Regions from separate parts of the Homo sapiens genome. Here all the other regions are linked to region 1. The links are contacts of gene promoters, found by promoter capture Hi-C in human tissues and cell types (Jung and others, 2019). All regions are on one chromosome and are shown on one strand. Each heading gives the region's core, a stretch centred on a gene start or on the middle of the fragment in contact. The rest is flanking DNA. Distances are from core to core; before and after follow the strand shown.

What was found. Contacts are between HindIII fragments. The study calls those that stand out against the background at their distance.
Region 2: a fragment that was not itself captured here is called in contact with the fragment with the promoter of EFCC1 in region 1 in 1 of the 25 tissues and cell types used here (aorta).
Region 3: a fragment that was not itself captured here is called in contact with the fragment with the promoter of EFCC1 in region 1 in 2 of the 25 tissues and cell types used here (bladder and small bowel).
Region 4: a contact is called between a fragment that was not itself captured here and the fragment with the promoter of EFCC1 in region 1, in 1 of the 25 tissues and cell types used here (bladder).

What each region holds. Positions count from the first base shown.
Region 1 is chr3:128,999,961-129,002,610 of GRCh38, forward strand. EFCC1 (EF-hand and coiled-coil domain containing 1) reads left to right here and starts at 1,344. Exons shown (of 8, transcript NM_001377500.1): 1 at 1,344-2,364. The coding sequence starts at 1,669. It also overlaps a transcript of CFAP92 not described here. The HindIII fragment of the contact is 14,506 bases long and covers 1-2,650 here.
Region 2 is chr3:128,675,243-128,677,892 of GRCh38, forward strand. It overlaps the pseudogene POU5F1P6. Among named protein-coding and RNA genes, the nearest start is that of RPN1, 26 kb to the left of the region's middle. RefSeq lists an enhancer at 94-163. The HindIII fragment of the contact is 6,212 bases long and covers 1-2,650 here.
Region 3 is chr3:129,296,691-129,299,340 of GRCh38, forward strand. It overlaps HMCES (5-hydroxymethylcytosine binding, ES cell specific), which reads left to right. Exons shown (of 7, transcript NM_020187.3): 5 at 1,664-1,845. Among named protein-coding and RNA genes, the nearest start is that of H1-10-AS1, 18 kb to the right of the region's middle. The HindIII fragment of the contact is 3,505 bases long and covers 1-2,650 here.
Region 4 is chr3:129,256,114-129,258,763 of GRCh38, forward strand. COPG1 (coat protein complex I subunit gamma 1) reads left to right here. Exons shown (of 24, transcript NM_016128.4): 8 at 1-41; 9 at 1,357-1,514; 10 at 1,614-1,747. Among named protein-coding and RNA genes, the nearest start is that of COPG1, 7.8 kb to the left of the region's middle. The HindIII fragment of the contact is 5,686 bases long and covers 1-2,650 here.

The sequences.
Region 1 (2,650 bases), core at 94-2,593:
ATACACATGTCCTAGTAGAAAATACTTAGTATTGTTTTGTGTGTTTTTGTTCTTGTTATGTAAGCATCAGTGTTGTGCATAATCAGCTTGTGGCTTGCTGTGTCCGCTCATCCTCGTTTGCTGAGTCCTAGCTGATTTGATGGACACCAGGTTGTCTCCAGTTTCTCACTGTAATAAACAATGATGCAGTGAACATCCTGTGCACAGTGGCTTTCGAAGGTAGAAGCCAAGAAGTGGACGTGATGTAAAAACTTTGTCAAATTGCCATTACTTTTATAATTAAAAACAAACCTAAAAGAATATGTCCAAAATGCTTGGGGAGAAGCCTCTAACTCCTTCCCAGCAGATATGTACTCTGGGCAAAGCCTTCAAGAACAAGTACGAATTTGCCAAATGGACAACGTGCTGATTCTGGGATACTGTGGCAGAGGAGACAGAATGCTATCGCTTTTCAAACGGCAAGATTTTACATTTAAACTCACAGAGTTATCCACAAGGCAAGATTCTGTCTCTGTCATAGCTAGGAACAGCTGAAGAGTCTGCCTCTTGCTCCAACATGGCTGGGTACCGTGGCTGGATAACCGTTCCCGGTGCAGGTAACAGGTGGACAATATCACAATATCACTGCACCCCTCTCGTGAAAAAGAAAGGGAACACAGTCTAGCACTCACCAGAGAAGCAGGTTTTTCTTCATCTTCCAGAAATGTGTTCTAAAACACCAGAAAAAAACATCAGCCAATCATCGACCTGTTAACCTAACCCCAGCTCAAGAGATGGAACTCGGATCCCATTGCCAAGTCAGCACCGGCAGGCACAAAGGTGGCAGGGCCGGGAGACACCACTTTCCCGAGAGTCCTATCCCCACCCCCAACAGGGATCGGGAGAGAGCAGTTAGCACAGGGCTCGTCTCAGATGGGCTTCTCACCAGCGGGGTGCCCCTAACCTAGACCCCTTGCCTCTCCAAGCCTGTTTCCCTCTCTTTCCCAGTTACTACTTGGGGCTCTTTGCACGGTCTATGGTGGCACAAGAAGTGGGTTCGGAAACCCAGTAGCTGAATTGAAGCGGAGGGGAGGCTTTTCCGCACCTACGGCTACAGGGCGGCGAGAGCAGGCTTGCCAGGCAACCCTCGAAAGGCCTTCCGGGAAGAGGGGGAAGAGTGACGCTTGGGTGTGGGGGCACATCCCCAGCAACCGGACGAGGCCGCCACCCCCAAGGCCCTCCTGGGCTTCGGATCCCGCGCCAACCCCTCGCCCAGGTCTCGGAGCGAACTCTCCGCGCCAGGCGGGCGGGGCGGAGGGAGGAGGGAGTTGAGAGTGGACGGCCGGGAGTGGGAGGAAAAGCGCAGACGCCAGGAACGCCCCGTGAGTGAGGAGAGGAGAGCGTGGGAGTCACGCGGAGAAGCCAGACCCAGACGCCGACCGGGCACTGGTGGCGCTGCCGGGGTCCCGGGGGTTCCTGGACCCCCTACCCCAGGCCCCTCCAAAGCAACTGGGGTAAACCAGACGCACTGTGAGGCCAGCGCAGCTGCTGGACACGGTCCCCGGCGCCGCTCCAACCAGACCGCGACCGCTAAGCCCCTCCTTTCGAGAAACTCTGGGGCCGCCCCTGGAAGTGGCGGGGCGAAGGGACCGGAGGAGGGACCGGAGGAGCGAGGCGCGCGGCGCAGCGATGGAGCCGGTCAGCACGGGCGCGGAGGCCGGCATGGAGGGCGCGGGAGGTGACCCGTACCGGCGACCTGCGCGGCGCACGCAGTGGCTGCTGAGCGCCCTGGCGCACCACTACGGGCTGGACCGCGGCGTGGAGAACGAGATCGTGGTGCTGGCCACCGGCCTGGACCAGTACCTGCAGGAGGTCTTCCACCACCTGGACTGCCGCGGCGCCGGCCGTCTGCCCCGCGCCGACTTCCGAGCGCTCTGCGCTGTGCTGGGGCTGCGCGCGGAGGGGGCCACCACGGCCGGGCAGGCAGCAGGTGACGGGAACTCCAGAGATGTGACCCCCGGGGATGCGGCCGCTGAGTTGGCCACGGACGGGGACTCAGATACCGATGAAGAGGCGCGCCTGGCGCTGCGCGCCGAGCCGCCGGAGCTCACCTTCCGCCAGTTCCACGCGCGCCTCTGTGGCTACTTCGGCACCCGTGCGGGGCCCCGGCTGCCCCGCGGCGCTCTCAGCGAGCACATCGAGACGCAGATCCGCCTGCGCCGTCCGCGCCGCCGCCGCCGCCCGCCCTGCGCGCCTGGCCCCGACAGCGGTCCTGACTGTGAGCGCGTTGCGCGGCTGGAGGAGGAGAATAGCAGCTTGCGCGAGTTGGTGGAGGACCTGCGCGCCGCGCTGCAGAGCAGTGATGCGCGCTGCCTAGCACTGCAGGTGCGCGCCGGCCACGAAGGGAGGGTGGTAACGCCCGGGAGAGGGCTCGAACTAAAAGCTGGCTGGCTGCGGAGCCCGACAGGACAGAGTCAGAGGAAGGGGAGACAGAGGGCAGCCCCACACCATCCCACTCCGCATCAGCACACTTGCATCTTGCCCCTGTTCCTCCCCATTCCACTCCAGTCCCCAACCCTATTCTTACCACCTATTCCATTCCTGAAAACCCCAATCACACTCAAACAACCATACCCCACTTTTCTGCTCCACCGCCACATCATCGCGTCTT
Region 2 (2,650 bases), core at 103-2,602, 320 kb before region 1:
TTTTTTTTGTATTTTTAGTAGAGACAGGGTTTCACTTTGTCAGCCAGGATGGTCTCGATCTCCTGACTTCGTGATCCTCCCGCCTCGGCCTCCCAAAGTGCTGGGATTACAGGTGTGAGCCACCGCGACTGGCCCGGGTTCTTGTTCTTTCGGCCTGCCTGAGGGTCTCTGCTTTGCATATCTCCTGAAGCTCTTCATTGTTGGCTGCTTCCTCCACCCACTTCTGCAGCAAGGGAGGCAGCTTACACATGTTCTTGAAACTGAGCTGCAGAGCCTCAAAGCAGCTGATGGTCATTTGGCTGAACACCTTCCCAAATAGAACCCCCCAGAGGCTGGGCATGGTGACTCACTTCTGTAATCCTAGCACTTTGGGAGGCCAAGGTGGGAAGTCAGAAGTTCAAGACCAGCCTGGCCTGTAACATGGAGAAACCCCGTCTCTACTAAAAATACAAAAATTAGCTGGGCATAGTGGCACATGCATGTAATCCCAGCTACTTGGGAGGCTGAGGCACGAGAATCGCTTGAACCCAGGAGGCAGAGTGAAACGCCTAACCTTGTTTTTACTCTAACTCGTTACTTTGAATTTTATCCTGCTTGTCTCTTTAATCACCTAGCCTTGCTTCTCATGTAAATAAGACTCTCTCTAGCTGGGAAAGCCAGACAAACTCCAATTGACCCCTTAATTTACAAGATACTAAGGGCTCCTTACCCAACCCCCTTCCGCAAGGAGTTAACCTGTGTAAGCAGATCCTCAGCATTTCAAAGTAGCCCAATTAACTGATAAGGTACTAGCACCAACAATGTATGAAGTTCCCAGGATTTTTCTCAAAGAGATAACAACATAAAGCCTTGAGTTCCTGTCCGGCATACCCCCTATATCTAATTATAATAAAGGTTTAAAGCCTTGCACCTGGTACCGTTGCTCTTCTTGTAACCATTTGTCTTTTAAATTGTTTATCTCTTTGTAACCATTTTTTTTTTATTCTTGCATGTTTTTACTTCTGTAGAATTATTGCATTTGAGTTCCCCTCCCCTTCCTAAACCTAGGTATAAAAGTTAATCAACCCCCTTCCTCGGGGCCAAGAGAATTTTGAGCGTTAGCCGTCTCTTTGGCCGCCGGCTTAATAAAGGACTCTTAAATCGTCTCAAAGTGTGGCGTTCTCTCTAACACCCCTGGGCACAACAAGAGGTTGTGGTGAGCGAAGGTCACGCCACTGCACTCCAGCCTGGGCAACAGAGTGAGACCCTGTCTCAAAAATAAATAAACAAATAAATAAACATTTAAAAAAAGAGCCCCCAGGGTGAGCCCCACACGGGCCTGGATATATCCCAGGGTGATCCTCTTCTGCTTCAGGAGCTTGGCAAATTACAGAGCTTTGATGTCCTGGGACTCGTTGAGGTTTTGCTCCAGCTTCTCCTTCTCTAGCTTCATGGCACCAGCTGGGGCAGTGCAAGGCTCCAGGGAGGCCCCTCACAGTTGCTCTCCACCCAGGCTCCTGCCTCGCCCTCAGGCTGAGAGGTCTTCAAGCCACCTTGGGGCACTAGCCCCACTGCAACCGGAGACCCAGAGTATACCATCTGCCCACGGAACTCATGCAGTGGGGGGCACGGGAGAAACCCCCACATCTCAGAGCCTGGCCCAACACCCGGCCCAATTCCTGCCTTGGAAGCTTAGCCAAGTCCAGCTCCCGCCCCGCTGACCCATTACCTCCACCACCTGGAAGGGGCAAGAAGGTGAAATCCAAAGCCAGGTGTCCCACCATGGGGAAGGAAGGCTCCCCAAGCCAGGGATCTGGTGAAATGAGGCAAAAAGTTTTTAAATTTTAAAAAAAGTTGTTTTAGAAATGAGGTCTTGCTATGTTGCCCAGGCTGGAGTGCAGTGGCTATTCACAGGCATGATCATGGCTCATTACAGCCTGGAACTCCTGGGCTCAAGCGATCCTCCTGCCTCAGCCTTCTGAGTAGCTGGGACTACAGGCATGTGCCACTGTGACCTTCTTAAGGCTTTTGAAATTTTAAAAAGAAAAAGAGTCTGCATTCCTGACAACACACCAATGCCCCATACAAGACTCAGATGTGCCTGCCCTTATTGCTACTTATTGCTTGAGACAGATTAACCCTTGTCTGTTTAAGCCACTATAGAAGGCTACATTGTTATTTGCAATGTAATTTGCATTGTTATTTGCACTATAGAAGGCTACATTGTTATTTGCAGCCACAGTCATAATTATAATTATATGTGATAAATCTTGGAGCTTATTCTACAACAGTACTACTTTATTTTGTAGGAGGGGCTGCATAGAATTCCTGTTAAACAAATGTGTCTTTTTTTTTTTTTTGAGATGTGGTGTCACTCTGTCACCCAGGTTGGAGTGCAGTAGTGCGATCTCCACTCACTGCAACCTCTGCCTCTGCAGCTCAAGTGATCCTCCTGCCTCAGCCTCCTGAGTAGCTGGGACTACAGGTGCCTGCCACCACGCCCAGCTCATTTTTGTATTTTTTGTAGAGACAGCGTTTCACCATGTTGCTCAGGCTTGATGTGTCATTTTTCAAAAATCAAGCCAGTCCCCTATTTATGAACAATTAGTTTGCTTCCATGCTTTTGCCATTCAAACAGCCCTCAACTGTACCTCTTTCTACGTTTGTCTGT
Region 3 (2,650 bases), core at 96-2,595, 300 kb after region 1:
ATATGGGGTTAAGTCAGTCTTGTCAGGAATTGAACTGGGTTTGGGCTTTGTTCTCATTACAGTGCCTTTGTTTTGTTTTTGTTTTTGTTTTTGAGACAGAGTCTCCCTCTGTTGCCCAGGCTGGAGTGCAGTGGTGCGATCTCGGCTCACTGCAAGCTCCGCCTCAGCCTCCCGAGTAGCTGGGACTACAGGCGCCCGTCACCAGGCCCAGCTAATTTTTTGTATTTTTAGTAGAGACGGGGTTTCACCGTGTTAGCCAGGATGGTCTCGATCTCCTGACCTCGTGATCCGCCTGCCTCGGCCTCCCAAAGTGCTGGGATGACAGGCATGAGCCACCACGACCAGGCTACAGTGCCTTTGTTTGACACAGGCTTTCAAGTGCTCTGGTGTTATCCAGTGTTTAGGGTAAGGATTGACTTTCCAGAGGGTTTCTCAGCAGCCCTCCTCTCTTCAGTTGTTGGATTTTCCTGTGAGCCTGTGCCTTAGACATGGTCTTTCTTGTGCCCTTTTCCCTCTTCCAGAAGTAGACTGCTTCTGCTTGTCACTTAATGTTTGTCGGCTAAACGGGTGGAGGCAGTTCTCCGTTCAGTCTATCTTAAGCAGATGTGGCTCTCTGACTCAGTCTTCCCCAGGGCGTAGGGGGCTTTTTCTTTTTCTCCTTCCCCAGCCTCTGTGGGTCTTTACCTGATTCCTAGGCGTGACAGGGATTATTATTATTACCGTTTCCCTGGCAGCTTAAGACTTTTGCTCCTTAGGGGAAAAGTGATTAGGTGAGGCAGAGGAGCTTGCCTTTAAGGTATTCAACAGTGAGGATGGCTTCCTCCAGGCTCCTGCCCTGTGCCGTCTTTTTCGAGCACTGGCAAAGTCCAAGGAGAAAAGCCTGTGAGCTGGTGCAAACTCCTCTGAGGTTTGCAGCTCCTAGGGATTCTGTACTATCCTGCTAGCCTGTACGCTGCTTGTAGAAATGTGATAATAACATTATCTGAATTCTTAACCTGGTTGTATGAAGGCTTGTGTCTCCCTCCTGATGCTGCCAATAAGCCAGTACTTGTGTCCCATTGCCCCTTGGAGGACCTTGTCTTTTCTTAAATTTCAGGGAAATTGATCGACTTACCTCTCTGATGAGTTTAAGAAAAGTTATAATTTTGCATATTATCCAGCTTTTTTCTTATTGTTAGAATAGAAGTGACGTTCTTTCCAGCTTTCTACATTTTAGTCCTTGAATTGAATTTTGAATGGCAATTAGGAATTGGCATGAAATTCAATTCAATTAAGAAAGGGTGGGAAGGACATTTTGGGCAGAGGAAGGTTGCTTCAGCAAGACACAGGAGCATGAAATTGCATGAGAGCTTCATTTACCAACAGCTGGTTTGGGTTCAAATTAACAATGTAAGTAATAGCTAGAATGGTGGGCCAGTTCACGGAAGGCCTAAATGTCCAGTGAAGGTGTTAAATTCTGAAAGTATTAAGGAGCCATGAATCTATAGCTTCAGTTGGCATTTGCCACCAACCTTCTTTCCTTTGGTGACAGAGGGGTTAATAAGACGTGGGCTGAATTACTTTTAAAATGATTTCCGTGCTCTCGAGTCTGAAGTAGTACCTAACCTGCATGTAGAAGAAGTCTGCTGAGTGCATCTAATCTGCCCATATATTTTGCTTCCAGTCAGGTAGCATTGGTGCTGCAGATAGTCCTGAGAACTGGGAGAAAGTCTGGGACAACTGGAGGCTGCTGACAATGGCCGGGATCTTTGACTGCTGGGAGCCCCCAGAGGGAGGAGATGTCCTGTATTCCTATACCATCATCACAGTGGATTCCTGCAAAGGCTTGAGTGACATCCACCACAGGCAAGTCATACTTCTTAGCCCTGGATCCAAAAGGATCCAAAAGATGATTTGTCCTCTGCTTTTAGGTAGCTTTAGAGAGTAGGAAACCAAGTCATTTTACAACGTAAAGTTACAATCAGTTTGACTCTAACATGACATACATTCCTAAAAATCACTGTACTATGCAAAACGATAGAATAAAAACCAAATAACTTAGGGGAAAAGTGGGGTTAAGGAGACAACACTTAAAATGTTGTCAGTGACACATTAAAAAAATAATGGAAACCTAATAAAACAGTAGCACTGTTTTATACATGTTAGGTGGTTAAGAAATAAATAAATACTACAGGCTGAGCACGGTGGCTCACGCCTGTAATCCCAGCACTTTGGGATGCTGAGGTGGGTGGATCACGAGGTCAGGAGATCGAGACCATCCTGGCTAACACGGTGAAACCCCGTCTCTACTAAAAATACAACAACTAAATTAGCCGGGCATGGTGGCGGGCTCCTGTAGTCCCAGCTACATGGGAGGCTGAGGCAAGAGAATGGTGTGACCCCGGGAGGTGGAGCTTGCAGTGAGCCAAGATCGTGCCACTGCACCCCAGCCTGGGTGACAGAGTGAGATTCCATCTCAATAAATACATACATACATACATACTACAATAAATATGGCACTTTACCTCGACAAGACCTGAAGTTTGCTTGTTGCTTGTGGAAGTGAGTGTTGGAAGAAATGCATCTCATGAGTTATTGTGAAGTTGTGGAAGGAAGGTTATGTAAAATTTTTTATCTTTTGCAGTCTTAAATCCTGGGGCACAGTTTTCCT
Region 4 (2,650 bases), core at 77-2,576, 260 kb after region 1:
AGGCTCAGGAGGCAGCATCCAGTGATAACATCATGGTCCAGGTGAGATGTGAGCAAGGGAGTGATATTTAAAACACTCAGGCAGGTGGTAAGGCACTGGCCAGTTGGCATGGACACTTGCCACCGAGATCCTTGTGACCCCTGGCCATAGCAGGCTTTAATCCTTTCGTCATTGGATCATGGGAGGAATTAGGAGGTCCTGGGTTAGAGAATCCAGGGTACCACTTGGGGCGCTTGGGTTACAGACTGCTTACCAGCTGGTGCTGAAATATTCAAGTATTTTGATAACCAGCTGAGTATTGTTTTGGAGCATATGATGTGGCAAACTTGGCCAAGGCAGGCAGAGGGCCGCCTAAATTTAGGCCTTTGCCAGCCTGGCTTTGTTATGATGTGTGGAATTATCTTGATGAGGCTTTCATCCACTTTACTCTTCCTCAGTGACCTAGGACAGCCGTTCCTTTTATCTCTCTGGCTCTTGGTTTCCTTGTCTGTAAAATACGAATGAAGGTTACTGCCTCACAAAGCAGCAAGGACGAGCTGAGATCATGCATGTAACATGTGACCCATCTGGGTCATGAGTGCCTATCGGCGCTCCCTGTGTGTTTATGTATTCCCTTTATCTCTCATCTGTCTTCTCATCCTTTGCACGATTCTTGTCTTCAGGGCCAGCTGTGGCCCCTCAAAACACTTATGAGGGCCAGATAAGCTTCCCACATAGAAGGCTTCCACAGCTGCCATATCTTTGCCCCCAAATGTCGCTCCTTTAGGAAACAAAAGAGAGTATCGAGGACAGGAAATAACTATGAGACCTCACATCTTTAGAAAGGGAGTCTCTGGGCTTCTGGCCCTCCAGGCCTAGCTTTGTCAGTACCAGCCAGGAGTCTTTGGGCAAGTCAGCAAAGATTAAACTGTCTACCTTCAGGGTTGTTGTGGGTAATGCAAGATTTCATGGCTAAGGTGTCCCACACAGTGACTTACAAAACATGACAATGCTCAGGGTCTGGCTCCCACCTTCTCTCTCTCATTGTCTGATTGAAAGCACCAGGTCTCCCACATTGCTTTCATCTTTGTGCTGTTTGTTGTCCCTTTCCATATCTGTATTTATGCTACCTGTTAGGGCTCTTGCCGAAGCAGGGGTGGGAACAAGAACCACAGATATACTTCTGTGGTTTGTGAAGCATTGTGTGGAGGGCTGTGTACACAGAGTACCTGGGGCAGTTGTCACAGCCACTCTGTGTGGTAGCTGCTACTGTGCCCATCTTAGAAATGAGAAGGCTGAAGGACCCACCCAGGGCCACACAGCCAGTATACCCAAAAGTCATACATTTGTACTCTGTTGCTGTCTCCTGTCCTATAGTACCACGCACTAGGGCTCCTGTACCATGTGCGTAAGAATGACCGCCTAGCCGTCAATAAGATGATCAGCAAGGTCACACGGCATGGCCTTAAGTCTCCCTTTGCCTACTGCATGATGATCCGGGTGGCCAGCAAGCAGCTGGAAGAGGAGGATGGCAGGTAACGGCTCTCATCTCTCACCAGCTAGATGATGCCTCACTCATCCTACCATGCTGGGCCACCCCCAACGTTTTCTTGCCACCCTATGTTCTTTTGTAGCCGTGACAGCCCACTGTTTGACTTCATCGAGAGCTGCTTGCGCAACAAGCACGAGATGGTGGTGTATGAAGCCGCCTCGGCCATCGTCAATCTGCCAGGCTGCAGTGCCAAAGAGCTGGCCCCGGCTGTGTCAGGTCACTGGGCATTCCTTCACCCAGCCTCACATGTTTATGCTTGCTGGGAACTAGGCCTGGGTTCCCGGGCTAGGAGAAAGAAAGAAAATGCTCTTAACAAGTGTTAAGGAGTCTGTACCTAGGAAGCACCTGCCCCAGACACTATGCTGAGTCCCCACTTGTATCACGTTTTGGTGGTGGGCTGCTGTTAGTTCCATCTGACTGCTGAAGAGGCTGAGGTAAGGCTCGGGTCCACTCTGGAGCCTGTCAGGTTGGCTGGCCACAGGAGGAGGCCTGGTGGAGGAACCCAGGATCTGTGAAACTGGTGCATGTGAAGTGGGGCTGCACTTTTCCAGGTGAAGGAGAGAACAGTATAGAGGGTCGTTCTGAGCCTCCAGCTCCAGCACTGGAGCAGGGCAGCCTGGGTTAGAGCCCTGGCTCTGCCCCTTACCAACTGGGCAAGCCTGGCAAGGCCGCCCATCCTCTCCATGCCTTCCTTTTCTTTTCTCAGATGTGGATGATAGATCATGCCTATTACATAGGGTTATATAGCCAGAAAATGTGTGATCTAGACAAATTGCTTAGAAGGCAACATGTTTGTTGTTTGCCGTTTGCTGTTTTTTGTTTTTGCTTTTTGAGACGGAGTCTCACTATGTCGCCCAGGCTGGAGTGCAGTGGTGCGATCTCAGCTCACTGCAACCTCTGCCTCCCAGGTTCAAGCGATTCTCCTGCCTGAGCCTCCCGAGTAGCTGGGACTACAGGCGCCCACCACCACGCCTGGCTAATTTTTGTATTTTTAGTTGAGATGGGGTTTCACCATATTGGCCAGGCTGTTCTCGAACTCCTGACCTCATGATCCGCCCGCCTCGGCCTCCCAAAGTGCTGGGATTACAGGCGTGAGCCACTGCGCCCAGCCGTTGTTTG